Regions from separate parts of the Homo sapiens genome. Here regions 1, 2, 4, 5, 6 and 7 are each linked to region 3. Evidence: promoter capture Hi-C in 16 types of primary human blood cells and fetal thymus (Javierre and others, 2016). All regions are on one chromosome and are shown on one strand. Each heading gives the region's core, a stretch centred on a gene start or on the middle of the fragment in contact. The rest is flanking DNA. Distances are from core to core; before and after follow the strand shown.

Region 1 (3,235 bases), core at 159-2,658, 800 kb after region 3:
AATTAGTAAAAAATTTTCATATGGTCTCGTACTAGAGAATATAAAGCAAATAAAAGATTTTTATTGGCTAAAAACTAAACTTTGCTACCTGTGGAGTACGTATGTAATGAATAAATGATACACATACAAAGTGTTAGAAAGCTCAACCAAAGAAGTTAGCATGTTCTTTTGGAAATGAGAATGTCTTCATGTTCCAGTGACATTTAGTATCTGGAATGCAGTAGTAGCCCGATCTTACTTTAGAGGTTTTAAAGTTAGATTTACCAATAAATGTCTGCAAAAGGTATTACATCTGGCTTCCTGAGCAATTTGACTAGTTACCCAAGAGTTGTGATTACTATGACATGACGCAGTACAGCTGTAAAAAATAAAGACAAATTTAAGTTTAGTCCTGGTATGTATACACAGCTTTGCTATATTACAAGAAGGGTATTTTCTTTGTGATGAGTTTAGTGTAATAAATCAAACACATATATAACCTATAAGTAATAGGTTAAAAAAGTATAAATATATTGAAACACTGCTCAGATTTCATAGTCTTTTTTTTAACAAAGCTTTTTTGGTACTTAGTAAGCTTCTTCTTTGTGTTATTTTTTAATAGTGAAATACCAGTTGCTGGCATCTATTGAGTGCCCAGGTGGGCACTGTTTTATGCTTCACACATGTTTACTCAGTAAAATTTCCCTACAATGCTATTAGGTAGGTATTATTATTATCCCCATTTTACAGATAAGGAAGCTGAAACATGGAGATTTTAAAGCAGTTTTCTGGTAACTGGTGGAGCCAGGATTCAAACCCTGGCATTCTGTTTCCAGAGCCTATCATGTGACAGTCTGTTATTCCCAGAATTCTGGGAAGGCATACTCTGCTATTAAATACTATATATATTAGAAATAAGGCAGTTCATTTTATATATGCATGTGGTAAGATTATAGAACAAAAAGACAACAGTCATTTAACAAATAATAGCAAATAAGCTGAAGGGTTGACTTCAGTAACTTTAGAATGTAGTTATGTTTACTGTTTTTCTCATGGTCAGAACCTAATATGTTGATTTAAGCAATGTCTATAGTTAATTCATTAGAATGAAAGGACAGAAATGTAGTGGATGATAACTCAAGGGAGAAAAAAGCTTGATATAATAGTTTTTAAATGTTTAATACTATTTCAAATATAGGAACCATGAGTGAAAAATAAACTCCAGGATCGCAAGGAATCTGGGGAGTATCCTAAACTCAGAGTTCATTCTGAGTTACTATAAAAAGTCTGAGGACTTCAGGCCAGGCATGGTGGCTCACTCCTGTAATCTCAGCACTTTGGGAGGCCGAGGCAGGCGGATCACCTGAGGTCAGGAGTTCAAGACCAGCCTGGCCAACGTGGTGAAACCCCATCTCTACAAAAATGCAAAAATTAGCTGGGCATGATGGCACATGCCTGTTGTCCCAGATACTTGGGAGGCTGAGGCAAGAGAATTGCTTGAACCTGGGAGGCAGAGGTTGCAGTGAGCCGAGATCGAGCCACTGAGCTCTCCAGCCTGGGTGACAGAGCAAGACTCCATCTCAAAAAAAAAAAAAAAAAAAAAAAGGAACTCTGAGGGCCTCTCAGTGGGATTCTAATTTCTGATACATCTTTCTTTTCAGGGTCACTCGCATACTACTATTAGGACTTCATTAGAGAAGCTTCTTTCCAGAAAAGAAAGAAAAAGCCATATGTTGGAATAAGTTAAGAAACATTGTTAGGCTTATGGGAACACCATAAATCATCCTATAAAGCTTATTTGTAGAACCTTTTACGTTTTTGAAATGGTTGACATTTTATCTTTGCAGTTGTCTATAGAAAAGTTTTGGGGGTAGGGATTGGGGAAAAAGGATTATTGTCCTTGAATTATCTCCTGTGATAGAGGTCTCAGGTCTTGAAATCAGCCCTTTGACGTTAATGAATCTTTATCATTAATTCTTGGGGGTGGGGGCGGTGGTGTGGTCCTTGGATTCTTTCTAAATCATTTCTCTCCAACTTGGAAATATGGTTCTCTTCTAACTTTTACCTTTTTTAAAAAAAGTGATGTCTTTTCTGGTAGAAGAAATTTTATTTTTGAAAAATGCTCATAAAAAGAAAGCTACATACTTTGCAGTATCCTAGTATTTTAATTCATTATCATAAGTAAGCAGTAATTATATAGGTTCTATTACAGAAAGTATAACTGCTTTATTGTATTAAATCTTCTAGTCCTGTGATTGGTAGGTTAATTTTTTTCCAGCTTTGTAGAAGTACCATTGTAACAATCTCCTTAGTTTATGGACTTGGCCAAATGTTGTATTCACAGGTAACTGTTTCTTTTGAACTCTGAGCATCTTTCTTTATCCCAGGATTTCTGATATGGATAGCCTTGATGTGGTTAAGGGTAAATGCAACAAAATCACCTTACTTGGCCTTTGCCTTTCGTTTTACGCTTCATAGTTCTCCTTTTCTGTCCCAAAGCTAAACATGGGGTTTAACTCTCTCAGATTATATTTAGAGAGTCACTTAGGTGGGATTTTCTAAGCACTTTTATTTTAACTTTCATGAAAAATTTCAAACATACAGAAGTAGAGAGAATATTATAATAAAACTTCCATGTATCCATATCTCAGCTTCAACAGTTGTCACCTCATAGACAGTAATGTTTTATCTGTATTTGTACTTGCTCTACTTGCTCCTTCTAAATTATTTTGAATCAAATTCCACATCTTTCATAAATATTCCCAGATATGTAATATATAGTGATTATTTTTAAAACAACCATAATACTCTTATCACACCTTAAAAATTAGCAGCAATTACCTAATATTATCAAACACACAGATATAAAGCATGTAAAGATGCTGCTATCTTTTAGCAATTGAAAAATTAACATTTCAGAATGTGATTAGTGTTAAAGTGGTTTTTGTCTTGTGAACATTGTGAAGGGGAGAACGCATGGGAAAGGTCTTTTTAAATTCTGTCTGAGACAGTATTCTTAGAGTTCTGGGTTTTTTAGTCTTAAACTAAAATGAATTAAGTCTCAATTTGCTATCAAAATATACAAGCTGTTATACATTGGCCACTAAGGTGAAGTGCAAGCACACTTGTGATAGGCGTATTATGTGAAGTCAGAACTTTAAAAATAAGGAAACAAACACTTTTTTGAAAGGCTGGAAAAACTTCCTTAACATTTAAAAATAGTTCTTAAACAGAGAAAAATTTGTCAGGTGATTGA
Region 2 (3,228 bases), core at 680-3,179, 660 kb after region 3:
CCAATTGAGGAAGAGGAAACAAAATGTTTCCCAGGCATGTATCTCAGAGGGATTGAAAGTGTTACAGACACTAATGCATCTCAGCCATCTGCTCCTGTGTTGAGGTATCCTCTGCACTCTCTGCTACCCTAGCGTTCATGTGCTGGGCAGGATGCAGCTGGTGACATTCAATCTGTCCCTGCCTCCAGCATCAGAGGACACATCCCTGGGAACTCAGGCAGCCCAGGCAGCAGGGGTCCCTTGCAGGTCAACAACACACTCCTTTCCATCACGTTTGAGCTGGAACTCAGCAACTCTGCAAAATTTTAGTTCCTCTTTTTCTTCATTTTTCCCTTCCTCCCCTCTTTTCTTATTCTCCCTGCCTTTCCTTCAGCCTCTTCTTATTTTAATTGGCCTCCAAGCTCTGAGTCTGCCCTTCTTCACACTTTCTTCTCAACTCTTTCCTTTCCATTTCTCTATTCATCTTTTTTACCTTTCTTGTCTGAGGATATGAGTTGAAATGAATCCTTTAGTGAGAAGGTGACTCGATTTACATGCAGAATTTCAACGCTTTCAAACCTCTCTTGTTTGTGAACCTGTTGGAAAGCACTGATGGCCATGCAGGCAGCAGGTGTAGAGAGTGATCCTCTCAACGCTTGGTAGCTGAGAACAATTCATATTTATCATACTGGCTTTGGTCAAGTCAAGTGTGAATGGTGTTTGACTGTACTCATTTTACTTTTTTTTTTTTTTTTTTTTTTGAGATGGAGTTTTGCTCTGTTGCCCAGGCTGGAGTGCAATGGCACAATCTCAGCTCACTGCAACATCCACCTCCTGGGTTCAAGTGATTCTCCTGTCTCAGCCTCCTGAGTAGCTGGGATTACAGGTGTACACCACTATGCCCAGCTAATTTTTGGTGTTTTTAGGAGAGACAGGATTTCACCATGTTGGTCAGGCTGGTCTTGAACTCCTGACCTCAGGTGATCCACCCACCTCGGCCTCCCAAAGTGCTAGGATTACAGGCGTGAGACACCGCACCTGACTTTTTTAACATAAAAAAAGTGCTTAAAGCTTGGATCAACTCCTCTTCTGATTGATCAGTATTTCTGGGCATAGTGTTTTTTGTTTGTTTGTTTGTGTTTATACTTGTTATCTGGATATGTTTTGGGATCAAATAAATACCAAATCACAGAGGTTATCGAATAGAGTTCTTTAAAAAAATATTTTCACAGCCGGGCCAGGTGGCTCATGTCTGTAATCCCAGCACTTTGGGAGGCTGAGGTGGGTGGATAAAACCTGAGGTCAGGAGTTCGAGACCAGCCTGGCCAACATGGTGAAACCCCATCTCTACTAAAAATAAAAAAACTTAGCCGGGCATAGTGGTGGGCACCTGTAATCCTAGTGACTTGGGAGGCTGAGGCAGGAGAATCACTTGAACCCAGGAGGTAGAGGTTACAGTGAGCCAAGATCACACCACTGCACTCCAGCCTGGGAAACAAGAGTGAAACTCCGTCTCAAAAAATATATATATATACTTTCACATCTCCATTGGAAATTTTTAAAAGAAACTTTTTTTTTCTGTTTAATTGATGCCAGGTACTCAACTCCCAATGCCATCACTCCCACCAATGCAGACTCAGAGGAAGAGTTGCAGGAAGCAGGGATCCTACTGGTCTTTCTGTCACTATAACCCAGCCCTGGCATGGAGCCTAGCACATGGTAGGGGCTCAAAGGACATTTGCTGAATGCATGAGTGAGTAAGTCAGCTGAGGGTGCCATGGAGGGGGCTAGAGGACGCTGTGCTGCAACCAAGAGCTCAGGGCATCCTGCTGTCCTTGGAGCAGAGGGAGGTTTTGCTGGGACAACAGAAGACCAGAGAAAGTGAAAATCACACTTTGTTCTTGCCCAGATATCTCAACCCCTCTGCCATCCAAAAATCACATTTCTGTTTGGTATACTAAATGTTTATTGAAACTTTTGCTATATGTAGACTCTATGTTAAACTCTAGGGATACCAAAATAAACAGGACATTTTCTCTACCGGCAAAGATCTCTCAGTATGGTAAGAAAAAGAATGATTTTTTAACTAAAAGGTTATACCTCCATGTGTTACATTTTGGACTAAGCTGAAGCAATATTTTATTTTTTTAAATCAGGTAGATGAATCAGTTTGAATTGCCATTCTGTGTGTCTCTCTATTTCCTAAATATTTTGCGCTGAAATAGCACAAGAACAGCGGCACATTCCCACAGACGGCCCCTGACGGGACTGTGTTTGGGCCGAGTCCATATTTCCTCCGTCTCTTGCATCATTTGTTCTTTGCCCTTTGCAAATCTCAGCACCATTTCCTCCAGAGCAGCTCCTGGAATTTTCGATGGGAGCTGTCACCTGGAACCAGCGAGCTTTCTCTTTCATACCTGTCATAGAAGGAGCTCACTTCTCACGAAGACCCGCCCATTTTACCCCCGACCCCGCTGTGACGTTAGGGAAAGTTTCCTTCTCTAGAAGTGTCTAGAAACATGCTTGGCTTTAACTAATGCATCTAGAGTGTCCCATCTGTTTAACAGCACTTTGCTCAAGGAGCCCACGTACTTGTGTTCCACTTCCTGCCTTGGCGACAGTCTCCGCAGGACAAGCCCGGCCCATCGCAGAAGCCCCGTGTCCTGTAGATGAATGAGAACTTAGACAGCTAACATTCTACCTGATGCTGGAACTCAAGGTCCTTGACAAATGACCATGTAGCTTACATTCTGAGAAGTGACAGTGACCTCTCCATTGTTGGAGAGTGCCATTTCCAATTCTGAGCACTTTAGTTTGTTAGAAAGCTTTTTTCAGCAAGTTGTTTTCGTCTATTGAACTCAAAATCAACCTCCTTGCCACTTCCTTCCTTATTTACTTCCTCTGTCTTTCCCTTGACATTTACTCACTCTTTGCTCCTCTTCTGTCTTGTCCTAAAATAAAACCGATTTATTCCTTCGTCCTCACAACACCTCCTCCAATATTTGAAGACAGGAAGATAGTTCCTTGTTTTCTCTCTTCCAAGCTAAACACACTCAGAGCCTCCGGCCAGCCTAGATCAGGAACCGTTTCTAAAGCCCTCAGCACCTCCACCCTGCCTTTCTAAATGAGACATCTTAATTATAATGCCTTGTAGCGAACATTATTTTCCAATTATCATCTGACCAGCATATAGTGTTACTGTTACTTATTATCTGGACACGGTATTTTTATTTAATGGAGCTTACAATT
Region 3 (3,191 bases), core at 81-2,580:
GGTGGGCTCCCCAGTTCTTCTTCCAAATACAATTCACTTTGACTTACATACAAAATCCCGGGGGGGATTTTACAACTTAATTTGACCCTAAGTAACTGCTCTTCCTCCCTTCAAAAACAATCTGCTCCTCCTTCCCATATCTCACTTAAATGTGGGCGTCTCCATCCTTCCAAACACACAGACTAGAAAGTCTTGAGTTGTTCCCTATTCTTTATTTCCCTCTTCGCACAGTAAGTCACCAAATTCTGTGGACAGTTCTTTGGAAAGGTCTCAAATCTCTACCTCTTTCCCTTCCATATCACTGTCAAAATGATGCCTCTACAAGTCTGAGCCTGTCAATGCTTAGTTTAAAATTCTCTATTTACTCTAGCCTGATTACAGCAAACTCCGTCCAAACAGCCCAATATAACCTAAAGGTAGTATTATGACCTAAAGCTCATTGTACTGTGAAACCAACCTAGCTTTCCAGTTCTGTCTTCCTCAACTCTACTTCACCCCCAGCATCTTTCTTCTAACATCCCCTTTTCATACTTCTGTGAACCACTTATACTCCAGAAGCCTTAATGTGAATTATTAGCCCAGCATGAACCCAGTTAGATAGCACAATGAACGTGTCAAGGTGGCCCTGGGAATCGCAAAAAGTATTCAATTAAACTTAATTCACACTCCTGTGTGCAAAATGGAGAAACCCAGGGAAACAGCTGTTCGAAGAGGGGGCCTTAAACCCACCCATTTGAGCTCGCCCTCCGAGAGCGAGTAGGCTCGGCACGTGAACTGTCAAAAGCGAGGCCACAACCGACCTGGAAGCCGAGGAACAGGGTCAGCTTTCTGCACCCAGCCCTGTCAGGTACCAAACCCAACTGTCTTGAATCAGAGACGAACAGGACCAAAGGAGGTGAGTTTCAACACCCAAACTAAGAAGCCGAAGGAGGCGCAGGGTCCGTTAACCCTGCCCATCTCCACGCTCCTTGGAAAACGAAAACAAACTCTGGTTTCTCTTCAGCGTTCACCTCTCTGCGCCCAAACGGATCTGTAAGTCCAACTCTATACCTTAATCATCAACCTTTCCCACTTGAACCCCGTCCCAGCCCAGCCCATCCTTTCAGCGCGCCGACTACCCCATAGGTCATCCCAGCTCTGTCTCTTTTCCCAATTTCGAGAGCGGAAAGAAACCCCTCCCTCTTCTCCCTTACCTGCCGCGGGCACTCCCCTTCTTGGTACCGGGTCGATCGGAACTCCTGTTCCAGCTTGATCTCCACCCTAGTTGCAACGTTCAACCCACGTTCCCCTCGGACTGCTCCTCCCCCACTCGCGTCTCCACTAGGAAGGCGGCTTCCGGCTTGAGTCCGCGGCAAAAGAGTCCTCCTTCCTGCTGCACGCTGGGCCTGAAAGGACGGTGGCGTGGCGGGGAAGGTGAAGACGTGAGCACTTCCGGTCGCCCTCCGCAGAGGCGTGGCTGTCCGCCCTGTGGCCGCAGACGCAGTTGCGACTGCGGCGACGAGGAGGGGCGGGGCCGGTGGCTGCTGAGCCCGCCATGTGTGAGTGGCTGGGTTTGGGGAGGCGACGTTTCTGGAAGCTGCTGGAAAGCGCCCGAGTGGCGGAGGTGGCGCCAGCGGCCAGGGGGTGGGGCGTGATTAAAACTAGTGCGCGGCTTTCTGCGGAGGGATTACGCTGACGAAAGAGACCTGCTTGCGCGTCGCTGTTCCGTGGTCCGCGCGAGCGTGGTCGGGAGCCGCTGGTTCCTGGGGTGACCCGCGGAGGTGGGAGAGGGAAGGGCTTCCGAAGCCGGCGGGGGTGCCATGGACCCTCTCCGCCGGCGCGGCCTTCACAGCTGGGCCGCGCCGGGCATCCGTAGTCCGCTCTCCCAAAGCCTCGGTGGAGCTGAAGCTGCCACAGAGTGCATGTTCACAAAGGGTCATCACACACGGAGCTGCCCCTCCCTGTCTCCCTAGAGCCCATCTTCGAGGCCAGGGGCTTTTCTACCAGGATTCTGGGGTGTTTCTCCTCCTTTCCTCCCTCCCAGATCTTCTCACGGTAAGGGGAGCAGCGAAAGCGCAGGGACTTTGCATTCCACGACCCGTTCTGACTAGTCAACAGCCGATCTGTCCCTGCTGCTCTAATTCCAGCTGCCCTGCCTTGTTTTAACTTCAGAGAAAGGGGGAGTTCTCATTTGATAAGTTTAAGCCTTTGCTTTCGTAGGAAGGTCATGTGGCTTAAGGGACATCGTGACCGCGTATGCTATTTCTGCCTGTGCATTCTAAATCTTGGGGGCAGCATATTCCAGAAGTCCTTTTGGTCGATTGGTTCTGTGTCCTAGGATAACAATTTGTAGTTTCTGACCATTTCTTTACAGAAAAACCACAATTGGTATTTTGGACTGCGGGGTTTTTTAGTGGTCTCAAACTAAATGATTATATTCTGGAATAATGCTGACAATTTGGATAGGGTGGTGTGGAGGAAACAAGTCTCGTGTAGAAGAAATTATTTAGTAAAAAGGATTTTAGTTTTTGGTACTTCTGAATGCAAATGGCCAAGGAATCCAGCAGTTTGTTGGGGTTTCTCCAGACAAAAATAGGCTGGTTAGTTTGTTTACCTTTTTCTGTTGCTTTACTAGATTGTTAATGTATTTGTATATTTAAGATCTAGCTAGTTAGGTTTTTCTTTTTTATGAATTGTGATTAAAATTGGAGAAAGTAGTACTTCCTCCTGAAATAGACAAAACTCAGAGGGTTGTTTTCTTGTTCACCACTGCTACTTCCATTTTTAGAATGGAATACACTATTTGTAAAAAACAAACTTGCTGAGTATTAACTCATAAATTGAACAAAACAATTGGTTCAGTTAAAATGTAGCTAAAATTGTAAGACTGCAAAACAACATCACCAAACTGAATTGTATTTTTTAAAACGTTGTCTGCAAAGTTGAATTTTAGTCTTTCAGTGTAAATTTGGTATTTTTTCAGAAGAAAAATTAGTAACAGAAACAAAATGGAGGCGGGGCTTGAGTTGTAAAGAGAAAGGAAGGGATTTTAGTGTGTTCTGTGTTTTCGCTCTAGAGCTTTTTCCTCTTGTAAAAGGTAGTACAAGACTTATAAAGGGAAGAACTTTGGTACAGGAGATCAGCAGAGATTGACTAGAAAACCCCTTTCGTTTATATTATAGAGTAACGGTCCCAAGTTGAGAATACTGTAT
Region 4 (3,221 bases), core at 459-2,958, 850 kb after region 3:
AGATCTACGAAAATATTGTTCATACTGATCAGAATTAAATTTGTATAGAGCAGAGTTTTAAAATGAATGTAAATAGCACTAAACGTTTTCTTTCTGCAACCTGTACTTACAGATTCTTCCTGTAAACTAAATAAAAAAAAAATGATAGTGCATTTTGGTGGTAATTTTAAAGGTCTTGATTAGGTCAATAATTGTTTAAGCACCGTCTCATTCATGTTTTCTACTTTCATTTCTTAAGCTTTTAAAATTCATTTAATTAATATTCTGTTGTTGTTTTGGGGAGTATTCCCAATGTATCTTTGATATTTAACCTGGTTAATTTGTGGACAGTCACAACAATGGATAGAATTATGTAGTCTCCGTTATCACTAAAATGTTATCTTCAAGAGATGTTAAATATTTATATGCTTTGTTGACTAGCTGAAATGTGAATTCTGTTAGTGTTGACTAAAGAATCTGGTAGTTGCTTAATTGGGCAATTAAACAATTTATGGCTCTATTTTGTAAAACAAACTACTGGTAATTATTTTTAATACCTATTTTCATTCTGATTACTCTTTTTTTAAGTTAAAGACTATCAGTTAATTAAGATTGAGTTTTTATGATGGTTAAAAATAATTCTCTATTGGTTTTTCAATATATTTTTCTGTGTGTTCTCAGATTATATATTTCCCTCAATTTAGAGTTTGCTAAGTGAAATAAACTGGTTCACTAGTAGAGAAAGAATTACGTCGCTTAATACCTAATATCATAGTTGTACAATATGAAAAAAAAGAATAAAAAGTAGCAGTAAAATTATATACTGAAAACACCAAAAATTTAGATGCCTTAATAGTATATACGTGAAATACTCAGCTGTCCCTTTAAAAATAATTCCTTGGACTGCCTGGTGGTTAAAATACGATTCCTCATATCCAAGGCTACTTTTGAAGATCCCTCTGCCAAAAATATAGCTCACTTATCTAAAGGTGAGAGCTGCATAGATCCAGTAATGTACATAAAGCCTGAATGATGAGCCTATGTCCCTGCCTAACGCTGGTGTCTCACTCATCTCTTTTACCTAAATTGTCCTGAACTTTGTTAAGTGTTCTGGACAAGGCCAAGCTTTTCTTTATTAAAACCTCAGCATGTCTCCCTGATCTGAACTATTTGCTTTCTCTTCAAGATAAGTTGTATTTTACCATGGAAAAATACAGTATCTAACATTACCATTCACGTTAAATGAAGTTTCCTCATAACATTTATCTTTAGTTTTATGAAGTCATCGTGACCAATGTTACAGTAATTTCTGTTAGCTGATTGTGGTAAACAATGTTTAATGTGAAAAGAAATTAAAACTTTCTTCATCTGTTGTAGAATATTTCTCTTCTTTAAAATGGCTTCTATTCATAATTCTGGTGTATTTGCCTATTCTTTATTTCACTACTGTTTATGTCTTTTTTTCTTTCTTCAGTTAATGATACTCTTCAGTAAAAATCAACATTGAGCCAGCCTTTGCTATAGTTTAGCAAAATCAAAGGGAAGTATCAGCCAAAATTTAATATGCCTTCATACCGTTTTTATTTGTAACTTTTTCGAGCATTCCAGTTTGTTTTCCATTTTTGTGTTATAATATGGTCACTTGTTAGCCAAATGGAGTGATTGGGGTGGAGTGATTGGGGTGGGGGAGAAGGCACATGACCTATAATTACAAACACAGCTATAATTGAAACACAGCTGCAGGCTGTGCTGGAGTCTAGGCACAGTTTTTGTGGCCAGGGTAGGGTGGGGTTCTTGGGTGTGAGCAGTGGTAGTTGGGTGTGACTCCTGGCTTACCCTGACCCCCTGCCAGTTGGTGTGTTTCCTTCAGAAGGCAGTGGCTTCTATGAGGCTTTTACACAGGAGGTGGTTGACTTCTGAAAGAGATCATGGATAGAACTAAATGAGAAACACTTAGTTCTTAAATATCAGAGTTTAAAGCAGTACTGAAATGTGAAAACCAATTTCACTTACTACATTATTTTATAGTCTTCGACAGTGATGTCAGATGTTTGTCTTTTAATATTTTTCATATTCCTCTTTTTCAAAATGACAGCTTTCAAGAAATATGGAGTAGGCATAGTAAATTCCCATTTGGGGAAAGGAAATGCCCATCTCTTCCACGTGAGTCAACCAATAAAAAAGGAGTTGGGTAAACACATTTTCTAAAATGGCTCTGGAAGTGGTTTGTTGTTAGAAGTCTTAGAAGAGTCTGGCTGGTTTTAGAATGTAGTAATTACACATTCAAACATTATTTGGTATCTTTTATTTTCTACACATGTTCTTGAAGCTTATTTGATGTAAGGGAAGTCTTACAATGAAGTGGGAGAAACTTTGCTATAGTTAAATAATACAAGGAGGCAGCAGAACCTGGAGGGGAACCGGGACAAGCCGCAGCAGAGTGGGACCCTCAGAATTCTTGTAGGAACATACAGGAAGACATCTGGGAGTTGGCCAGTTCTCAGTTGTCTGCCAGACGAGATAGTTTTTCTTCTTCCCTGCATGCTGGAACCTGTTTCCCCTTATGTCCTTCCTTACCACATGGTTTTCCGTGGGCATCACTCACCTGGGTTCCATTAGGGTGCCACTCCCCCAGTGTTTCTCAGGAGCATTTTTTTTTAAGTCTGATAATTTTAACACATCTACATTTTGACTGATGCTGTTCGTCAGTCCTCAGAGTTCAGAAAACCACAAGAATAGCTGGGCTTTGGAGTCAAGCCTGACTTTGTTCTGGGTGATTTTGAAGAAGTTACTTAATATCTGAGCTTCAGTTTTTTCATTTATAAAAATTAACACATAGTTTAGAGGGTTGTAAGGTTTATTTTAAAATAAATATTTAGAGCACTGATTTGTCTGAGAACTCATGCAAGCTAGCAAACCTGTCAGAAGGCCTTATGTTGGAAATAAAGTGCTGGGCATCAACGTATACTCTAAACTTTATGGAAGTAGCTTATGAAAAGGCCAGAGAAAATGTGGATGATGCTGTGTTCATTTAAAAGGAAGATGAGTGGGGACATCTCAAAAATAAGCTCTGGAATAGAAGGAAAATAGGGGACCCAGTAATGACACAGCTTCAGATGTGTATATGCGAGGTACCAGGTCATACATAGAGCTTAGACATGTTAACATAAGGACATAAACATAACTGTCAAAATCTGAGATGCTATTTGTTACTAGGGTACAAAAATACACTGTTCAAAAGA
Region 5 (3,055 bases), core at 417-2,916, 510 kb after region 3:
ATTATTGGATTATTTTAATGTACTGAATATGACTACATTTTTTGAAGAAGAAGATAATGAGCAAATGTGTTTTTGAATTTCCTTCTAACTTCTAATCCATCCTGCTTTATGCCACCAAACAAGTCTTCCTAAAACACTGATTTTAACCATGTCGTGGCCTGAACACAGTCATCAGTGACTCTACCTGTAGACAGATAGAACTCCACCTTCCTTACCTGGCATTTGAGGCTCCCAACTTGTTTTTCTGTGTCTAATTTCTTCACAGAATCTTTCATGAAATAAGCTACCCTCACTGTCCTGTGAATGTGATTTTTGTGTTCTTAATGTTGCACCTTTGCTCACACCATCATCCTCACCTCCCCTGATAACATCAACACTATTAGGTACTTACTGTGTATCAGGCACTCTTGTTCACTAGGAAAATAAAGAAATGGTCCTTATCCTTAGTCTTTCCACGCCCAGCTCGAATACATTCCCATTGATTGATTCATTCATTCAGGACGCAGTATATCTAATCTAGGACCCTGTTCTAGAAGCTGTGAGGGAAACAGGGTTGAGTGAGAACCAGTTCCTTCCCTCCAGAGGCCCCATGCTGGAACTCTGCTTGGTTCCCTTCATGAAACTTTATGCTCTCCTCTCCCCACTGAAGCCCATGGAAATCTAGCTTTTCTCAGAATTTCTAATGGAACAAAGCAAAAACTGACTCAAGTGTTCCTTTTATTTATTTACTTGATTTTCTAAGGTTGGGCAAGATAGAGGAGGAAAGGACTCTACCTCATGGCTTGTCCAGAAGAGGGCAGGGCCACCCCTGCAGCCAGGCCTCCCGGGCCCTGGAGGTAGGAGGGGGACGATGGCCTCTAAGAGCACTCTGAGACCAGGAGCCTGTTCTCTCGGGCCTGAAGGCTTCGCTTCCACTGTTCTACGCTGCCGCCCTGGCCTGGCCACCTCCCCTCCACTGTGTGGCTGGCTTTTCTCTGCCTTCTGCTGCCTGATGGGATCTCCCACTCACCTCCACGAGGATCTGAGAGGAAAGGGTGCTGAGGAGAGGAGCGTGGAGTGGGCAGGCTCTTGATGCCAAGCCAAGAATCTGCATGGCTCATTTGAAACTTCGCAGTGCCCTTTATCTCTTGTTCTCTTTTATGTATAAGCTCGTCTTTCTCCCATACAGTTGTAAACCCCAAAGGGTAGGGACTGTATTCGGTTCCTTATTTATATCCTGTAAGACAGTGACTCTCAAACTCATCAGAATCACCTGGGGAGTTTTAAAAACTTGATTCCTCCAGAAACCATAAAGACCAAAGATTTAAAAATATCACCATATTAAAACAGAATGAAGCAAAATCCTTCTGTAAAGCTAAACAAACAAACAAACTCATGAATCAGTCAGAAGAAATTATAAACAAGGGGAAAACAGTATTTGGAATATAGATGGAAGACACACTAATTTCTTTAATTTGCAACAAATGTCTATAAATAAGAAATATACAAACAACTCAATAAATGCTGGGCCAGGAATCTGAACTGGCAGAACATGGAAAAGAAATACCAGTGACCAAGAAACATATGAAGAGCTGCTCATCCTTCCTCAGAAATAAAGAGACGCAAATCAGAACAATGCCAGACCACTTTTCATGAATCTGATTAGCAAAAATTATAAAGTTTCATGATGCCCATTGCTGATGAGAGTATGGAAGCAGATGCCAGTGAATGCAAACTTGGTGGATTTTGGCACCTGTGTGACAAGGTGGGGCGGTGGTTCTCACACCTGCATGAGCTTCTGAATCACATGATGAACTTTTAAAAACATAGATTCTCTGCGCCCCCATCCCATACTGCCATAAGGCACCCGCGTGTAACTAAGGGCACAATTTGTGAAGTTCGAAATGGTAATAGAGACCAGACTAGTAAATTTCAACTAAAGGAATTTTGTCAACATACATCAACATTTTTAAAACATGAGTAACCTTTGACCCAGCAATTCTACTGATGGGAGCTGATTCTGAAATTTCCCACAGAAGAGTATCAACGTCGGCAAGAATGGATGCCCACAGCAGCATTATTTGTATAGCAAACAACCTCAATGTCCATCAATAGGAACCTGGATAAATAAACTGTGGCACACTCTTAGATCTTTTAAAGAGATTTAGTAGGAACTCCATTTGCTGATATAGAGCAGTCTCTGAGTTATGTTGTGCAATGAAAAAATCAAGCAGCAGAGCAGTATAAATGGTGTAATCCATTTTCCACATAACTTTTAAAATGACACACCATATACTTTGGTAAATGCACAAATTCTTTTTCAATGGAAAATCTACAAGAAGCTGATAACAGTGGCAACTTTGAGGGAAGGATGAGAAGAGAGGTTCTTACCTTTCATTCAGTACTGCTTGATTTTCCTACTTCCTACTTTGTGCATTGATTAGTTTTAGTGGAGAACTTCAGTAAGTGTCATCTGAAAGGTGGAGTTATGGGACAATTTTGGTTTCTCCTTTAGAGTTTTCTGTAAAGGATATTCAATAATTGAAGATTCTCAGGCCATATACCAGATACACCAAGTTTGGGTGGAGATGCTGGCATGGGACTCTAGAAATCAGCTTGTCGTGTGATTCTGCTCATCAGTCAGGTTTGAGACTCACTGCAGAAGATTCTGGAAGAAAAATGCTCTCTTCTCTAGCTCAGGGGTTATGAGGATGAGAGGGTGGGGTGGCTGCAGCCCTTTTGTTTCCATGAAAGGAGAACCTGAATGACCTTGTGCAACCTAAGGTCAAAGAAATGCATGGCTGGCAAGTAAACCACAGAGAGGAACTTGTCCGCTGGTACATCAGTAGGCCACAGAATCATGCCTTTCCCGAAGAAGGACGTCCTGTGTCTAGACTTTTCAGTTATGAAGCCAATACGTCCTCTTTGTTGTTTAATGCAGCTTGAGTTAGGTCTTTTGTCACATGCAATATTAAGAATCCTAACTGATAGACCTCCACTGAGACAAGCTGAGTATGTCTTTATCTCTTGCAGACTGAAATTGCCTAATTTATAAAGTATTTCATGATGTTTGCAA
Region 6 (3,365 bases), core at 521-3,020, 840 kb after region 3:
TTTCTGGAACTAGGCAGTTTCCTGAGTGTCTGAAGCAGGCCAGGGGGAGTAAGGAGGGAGTAGTAGGGTCTGTGTCAAACCGAAGATTCATACCCACCTATAAACATTAAAATAATATTTTTTAAATTTGGTTCAAACATATTTAGAGGCTATGAGTTTCCAACATTCTGAACATCTAGATAAATATGAACTCTTTAGACCATTGATTTTTGAAATATGAAAGTGTAATATCAGTTTATTGGCAACTGTGATGTGTGTTAGTTTTAAATTAGGAAATGCTGAGAATTTTGTGGCAGGAACCCAGTTAAATTTATGGAGTACAGTATGTGTGTCTTGTTTTGTCTTGTTTTGGTTTGGTTTGGTTTTCCTCTCACAAGCTTTTAAGCTTGTGAGTGGAAAAAAAGAGATTGGGAATGTTCAAAGATAATTGAACATTATCTAGAACATCTAGAACAAGGACATCTAGAACAGAAGGTCTTAGGTTCAATGAATAGTCTTCAAAGGATCCATGAATATCTTATAACTTTATTTTTAAATGTTGTATTTCTATATTTCTGTGCTTAATGTTTTCTATAAAAAGTAGGCTTTGTTGATTTATGTTTATTTTATTTTTTTTTTTAGAGATGGGGTCTCATTCTGTCACCCAGGCTGGAGTGCAATGGCATGATCATTGCACTGTATCCCCACAGCCTCGAACTCTGGGTGCAAGTAATCCTCCTGCCTCAGCCTCCAGAGTAGCTAGTACTATAGGCATGTGCCACCACACCTGGCTTTTTTTTTTTTTTTTTTTTTTTAATTTTTTGTAGAGACAGGGTCGCAATTTGTTGCCTAGGCTGGTCTCAAACTCCTGGCCTCAAGCTGTCCTCCTGCTTCAGTCTCCCAAAGTGCTGAGATTACAGCCGTGAGCTACTGCACCTGGCCAACTTCATTTTTTAGAGCAGTTCTAGGTTCACAGCAAAATTGAGAAGGTGGCAGAGATTTCCCATTTACATTTTTCCCCCATGCATGCACGGCCTCCCCTATTATCAGCGTTCCCCCACCAGAGCGGTATTTATTACAATTGATATGCTTATTTGTCTACTTAAGAAAATCATTTATATTTCTTTGAAAGCCCATACCGATACAGTACTTGATAGCGTTAACTTTTTAAAATATTAATAGTTTATTAGGAATATCCTGAAATGATTGAGTACTCTTTGAATTAAATGTTACTCTATTTTAAAAGTAATACAGACTTAATGTGAAAATTAGAAAATGCAGGAATACATGAAGAAACTAAAGATGAAATAAGGACTGTTATATTTGGTACATATCCTTCAAGACTTTAGTTTGTACATATATATGTGTGAGATATACACATCCATGCTATTGAAATATAACCAGAGTTCTGCTTTGTATTTTAGGGTTTTAAACTGTCAGAAGCACTATTTATTTATTTATTTATTTTGAGGCAGAGTTTTGCTCTTGTTGCCCAGGCTGGAGTGCAGTAGTGTGATCTCGGCTCACTGCAACCTCTGCCTCTGGGGTTCAAGTGATTCTCCTGCCTCAGCCTCCCAAGTAGCCGGGACTACAAGCGCGCATCACCATGCTCTGCTAATATTTTGTATTTTTATTAGAGACCGGGTTTCACCAGGTTGGCCAGGCTGGTCTCGAACTCCTGACCTCAGGTGATCCACTTGACTCAGCCTCGCAAAGTGCTGGGATTACAGGCGTGAGCCACCGCGCCTGGCTAGCACTTTTATTTAATTCAAAGTTATAAACTTACAAACTGCTGTACCAGAGAGGCAAGAAACCAAGTTGCTGTAATAAAACATTTTGGCAGCAAGAGAGTCCTGATCTCTTTATATGGAATGACAGGAAAACAAAGTAGAAAAATTTGTCACTGAAGATAGAAAATATAGGATAGGTAGGATAGGTAAATGTAGTCTTAGTTATACCTTTTCTCAACCTTATTAGTAAACAGGTTACTTGTTTAGCAACCCATGAATATTCTATATTTCGTAGCCTGTTATAGCACAGCAAAGGAATTTATAACGAAACTTGAATAAACAAGATGTTTTTAGATCCAAGTAATTTAGTTTTTAGTTTTTGTTGATTTTTTTGTCAACCTTCTCACCAATCAGTTTCTATTTTATCAAAAGCTGCTTCCCGTTTTAAAGGGAGCCTCACATTTCTTATTTGCTATATATATATATATAACTTATTATATATATATACACACACACACACACATATATATATATATATATATATATTTTTTTTTTTTTTTGAGACAGAGTCTCGCTCTGTCGCCCAGGCTGGAGTGCAGTGGCACAATCTTGGCTCACTGCAAGCTCCACCTCCCAGGTTCACGCCATTCTCCTGCCTCAGCCTCCCGAGTAGCTGGGACTACAGGTGCCCGCCACCATGCCTGGCTAATTTTTTGTGTTTTTAGTAGAGACGGGGTTTCACTGTGTTAGCCAGGATGGTCTCGATCTCCTGATCTTGTGATCCTCCCGCCTTGGCCTCCCAAAGTGCTGGGATTACAGGCGTGAGCCACCGCGCCTGGTTTATATTTTTCTTTGTGTGTATTATTCAACTTAGGCTGCCACAGCAAAATACAGTAGACAGGCAAAATACCATTGCCTTCTTGCTCTCCCCACCTGGAGGGCAGGAAGAGAAGAGGGAGAGAGCATAGGAGCCGAGCTCTTTCTCTTCTTATAAGGCCGCTGTGGTACAGACGAGGACCTCACCCTTACGATCTCACTTTAACTTTAATTACCCTATCCTCCAGACACAGTCACTTTGGGAGGTAAAACTTCAATACAGATTTTGGGGAGATGCGAGTCAGTCCATAGCAAATAGGCATGTGTTCTGTTGTTCCCACAATACTGTTTTATACCTGGCTGCTTTCTCTCACTTAATATATTGTGGCTATCTGTTCATGTCAGATCATACAGGTCTTTATCTCATGTCGTTTAACAGCTGCATGGATTTCCATGGTAAGGATATACTATCATTTATTTTCCCATTTCCATATTGATAGACATCAGGGAAAATCAAAAGTAGGCTTTGGTGTCACCTTTACAGATCCTAAAGACTAAATCTATTTCCTTTCATCATTTTTAAATATTATAATTTGAGTAAAAGCCCAATGGAAATTAATTTTAAGCTTAAAAAATTTTAAGAAGTATTAAGTTCACATAATTTGCATAACTCTTAATTAGAAAGCTTGAATTTAATTATATTTTTTCTAGTTAAACACAAGTGGCTGAACTACTAGGGGCAGAATTTCTTGGGCATTAATGACTGAAGAACCTTAAATATTCCGTATAAGTTCATAGGGTAATATGTATTTGTTATTCATACATTAAGAGAAAACCATG
Region 7 (3,099 bases), core at 171-2,670, 520 kb before region 3:
TCAGAAATTGAGTGTACTTTCTTTGGTGCCCTTTAACTTTAAAAATTTATACAAGTACACCTGCTTTCTACATCCTTTGTGCCTGGGCTTTCATTTCAGAAAAATGTCCAGCAAGACAACAGTGAAGCTGGAACACAGCCCCAGGTACAAACTGATGCTCAACAAACCTCACAGTCTCCCCCTTCACCTGAACTTACCTCAGAAGAAAACAAAATCCCAGATGCTGACAAAGTGAGTGACTCTTCTAGTTCATTCCATTAGACAATGTTGCAAAGTGTAATCATTAATGATATCATTAAATTGCAGTTTCAAGAGCAAGCACCAATTGATTTCGTTCTGTGTAGGATTTTTTTCTGTTGATTTTCTATGTATTTTTCAACTAAAACCAGTTAGAGGTATTCAAGCTCAATTAAGGGAATTGAATGTCCTGCTTTAAACTTTTAAAAGCTTCTCTTGATTAACTGCCACTCGAAGTAACAAGAGACTAATGTATACTGTTCGTTGTCTTTCAAAGAGCAGAGGTATCTTCTAATACCAAAGGCAGAACTTGATATTTACCAGGGCTACATGATTAGTTTTCACTTGAACTAATCAGATGATAAATATATGGGCTATAGGAGTCTAGTAAACTTTCTCCTCTCAAGCCATCGGTCAAATTTAAGTAAATTAATTATGGTGATCTGGTAATAACCAGATTGCACTTCAAGGTAATTATTTTTTTGTCCTGCTTCCACAGTAGGTATTGGAAGCTAACTTAAATAGTGATGTTGTGTGCCTTGGAAAATGACAGTTTGTAATCAAACCTTTAAGATTCATGGTCAGAAGGATATTGAAAAATTTCTGTTGTTAACTATGAATCACCGTATGTTTTGTAGAACTTTATTTTCTGTACAAGTTACATGTAAATAATTAGCCTGCTCTTGGTTGTTTGGTTTCTCTTATATTCTGAGGGTAGAGTTTTTTATCCTCAGGCAAATTACAGAATCTTTCATTGGGTCAGGATAGGTTTCTATACTATGTAAAAGTTTCCAGTTTTTAATTTTTCTGTCCCCTCATTGATCCTGGGGGCTCCCAATGTGAGCTATGGGTCCTGACTCTGATTTCTGAAAGCTGCTCTCTGTTTTCTACTGTTAAGTTGTGTGATGATGGTGGTTATTTGGAAAAATAGATGCTTAGTTTCAACAGCACACTCCTTGACTTGGGATGAGCATACACATCAACTCTTGCCGATAGTCTTAGTACCTGTCTAGAACATGACATTGGGTAGGATCTCATTCATGCTCCTTAGTTGTAGGTAGGACCACTAGTCTCAAACCTTTTGGAGCATGATTACTCACCCCTTTGGAGACGGTTCCTCATCCATTCCATGTTGAAATGCCATTTTGTGATGCTGGTTTTGTCAGTAGTTGGTTTAATTGGGTACTATCAGGTTGTCTTGTCTTCATTTAACTTCCGTACATGTGCTGTTATCCATTTGTTTCCCAACATCTGTTGCTCTCCAGTGTCTTCCTAGGTGTATGTTTGATTGGATTCATTTTTCTTTCCTGTGGCTCATGCCCTCAGAGCATGCATAATGTATTGAAGGATTGTGTGCACTAGCAGGAAAATGATGTGGGGAGGACTGTAGGCTGACTGCCTAGCTCATCCGTAGTGATACAGCTTATGGCACTTGATAGGTGATTTCTAAGGAACACTGAGATCAGTCTCTGGAACGTGGGATCTAATTCCATCTCTTTAATTTTAGGCAAGTCATTGAACTTTCTAGACCCAGTTTCTTCGATAAAGTGCCTAAGATTTTTAATCCATTGTAACTCCTCAAAATTATCTATGGCTATGATTATTGTGCCTCATGGGCCAGTCTCTTCCCGTTTTACCATCCTACCTACAGGATACATGTTACACACTGTGGTTGTCATCTGATCTGTCATACAACTGAGTCTGCTCAGTTGTGTTCTTTGTCATTTTTGTATTAGTAGGAACCTGCAGAAATGGAAATGCATAGCAAAGGCTTGGAAAATTGAAGGCCACAGGAGATACTTACTTCTTTAGCCCTGTATTTACATATTTTGAAAAACCTACATAAATGATTGGCATGTGTCACATCAGTCCATTTGCTACTTTAAGACTCATCTCTTTTTACCTTGCAAAGTTGCTTATGAGAAATGATACAATTCAAAGGTGGATAGTAATAATGTGTGTGTGTGTGTGTGTGTGTGTGTGTATGTATGTGTATGGAGTATATATATATGTACTCCAAGTTCAATAAGGAAATTTTAAAAGGCACTCATCAGCATAGTGCTAGTTGTAATTAAAGCAGGCATACTGGCATATAGGGCCTTTAATATTACAGGAATTAAGATGATCCTAACGTGTTTTGTACTGGTCGAAGCTTATCCTTAGGTGACAGGTTCTAGAGTCTATAAAGATAATTTAGTAATTTTCACTTTTTGACTCATGGGATTTACAAGAATATTTAAAGGGCTTAGAAAGTAAAGACTTGCGAAGAAAAGCTTTAGCAGGAGAGATTGTTCAATATAGAAGAGAAAAATATCCCAGTGAATTCCTGAAGGAAGGTATGGCATATTTAATAGCAGCCCTGATTTAAAATAGTGGGAATTAGGTGATCCTGTAGATCCTTCCAACTTTATGATTTTTAGAGATTTTATTTTTGCCCAAGTCATCAGTAAGTATGAGGACATTTTTTTTGTGTTTTTCCAAGTGGGTTGTTTAAAATTTTTTCCTTTTTTTATTCCTCTTCCCAAGGCAAATGAAAAAAAAGTTGACCAGCCTCCAGAAGCTAAAAAGCCCAAAATAAAGGTGGTGAATGTTGAGCTGCCTATTGAAGCCAACTTGGTCTGGCAGTTAGGGAAAGACCTTCTTAACATGTATATTGAGACAGAGGTAAGTACTTCAATTAAATATTTTTATTTTGAAATATGTTTAGTTTCTTGGCCCTGATATCTATATTTCTAGTAGATAAATGGCCATAATTCTTTCTCATCCCAAGTTTTATATAGTTTTAGGGATAGGATGAAGACAAAACTAACGAATTTTGCAGTTTAATTTTTTTTAACAAAAAAATCTTTCTGCTTGATATAA

What was found. The method cuts DNA at HindIII sites, captures the fragments that hold promoters and counts their contacts. A CHiCAGO score of 5 or more calls a contact.
Region 1: a contact is called between a fragment that was not itself captured here and the fragment with the promoter of USPL1 in region 3, in 1 of 17 cell types (total B cells). The highest score is 5.2, in total B cells.
Region 2: a fragment that was not itself captured here is called in contact with the fragment with the promoter of USPL1 in region 3 in 3 of 17 cell types (naive CD4 T cells, non-activated CD4 T cells and total CD4 T cells); the score reaches 5.7 in naive CD4 T cells.
Region 4: a contact is called between a fragment that was not itself captured here and the fragment with the promoter of USPL1 in region 3, in 1 of 17 cell types (naive CD4 T cells). The highest score is 7.5, in naive CD4 T cells.
Region 5: a contact is called between a fragment that was not itself captured here and the fragment with the promoter of USPL1 in region 3, in 1 of 17 cell types (neutrophils). The highest score is 5.1, in neutrophils.
Region 6: a fragment that was not itself captured here is called in contact with the fragment with the promoter of USPL1 in region 3 in 1 of 17 cell types (naive CD4 T cells); the score reaches 6.8 in naive CD4 T cells.
Region 7: a fragment that was not itself captured here is called in contact with the fragment with the promoter of USPL1 in region 3 in 1 of 17 cell types (endothelial precursors); the score reaches 5.2 in endothelial precursors.

What each region holds. Positions count from the first base shown.
Region 1 is chr13:29,818,519-29,821,753 of GRCh38, reverse strand. All of the region lies in intron 1 of UBL3 (ubiquitin like 3), which reads left to right. Among named protein-coding and RNA genes, the nearest start is that of UBL3, 30 kb to the left of the region's middle. The HindIII fragment of the contact is 547 bases long and covers 1,135-1,681 here.
Region 2 is chr13:29,953,911-29,957,138 of GRCh38, reverse strand. No RefSeq gene overlaps it. Among named protein-coding and RNA genes, the nearest start is that of LINC00544, 19 kb to the right of the region's middle. The HindIII fragment of the contact is 1,754 bases long and covers 1,053-2,806 here.
Region 3 is chr13:30,616,059-30,619,249 of GRCh38, reverse strand. It overlaps USPL1 (ubiquitin specific peptidase like 1), which reads right to left and starts at 1,330. Exons shown (of 9, transcript NM_005800.5): 1 at 1,194-1,330. It also overlaps a transcript of HMGB1 not described here. RefSeq lists enhancers at 1,253-1,302, 1,323-1,652, 1,703-1,842, 1,863-1,932. The HindIII fragment of the contact is 4,577 bases long and covers 1-3,191 here.
Region 4 is chr13:29,762,542-29,765,762 of GRCh38, reverse strand. UBL3 (ubiquitin like 3) reads left to right here. Exons shown (of 5, transcript NM_007106.4): 5 at 1-1,392. Among named protein-coding and RNA genes, the nearest start is that of UBL3, 86 kb to the left of the region's middle. The HindIII fragment of the contact is 1,204 bases long and covers 1,107-2,310 here.
Region 5 is chr13:30,103,383-30,106,437 of GRCh38, reverse strand. LINC00365 (long intergenic non-protein coding RNA 365) reads left to right here. Exons shown (of 2, transcript NR_046998.1): 2 at 743-3,055. Among named protein-coding and RNA genes, the nearest start is that of LINC00365, 4.0 kb to the left of the region's middle. The HindIII fragment of the contact is 8,986 bases long and covers 1-3,055 here.
Region 6 is chr13:29,779,258-29,782,622 of GRCh38, reverse strand. The region is part of intron 1 of UBL3 (ubiquitin like 3); the gene reads left to right. Among named protein-coding and RNA genes, the nearest start is that of UBL3, 70 kb to the left of the region's middle. The HindIII fragment of the contact is 2,766 bases long and covers 388-3,153 here.
Region 7 is chr13:31,140,924-31,144,022 of GRCh38, reverse strand. HSPH1 (heat shock protein family H (Hsp110) member 1) reads left to right here. Exons shown (of 18, transcript NM_006644.4): 12 at 100-231; 13 at 2,764-2,901. Among named protein-coding and RNA genes, the nearest start is that of HSPH1, 19 kb to the left of the region's middle. The HindIII fragment of the contact is 1,942 bases long and covers 450-2,391 here.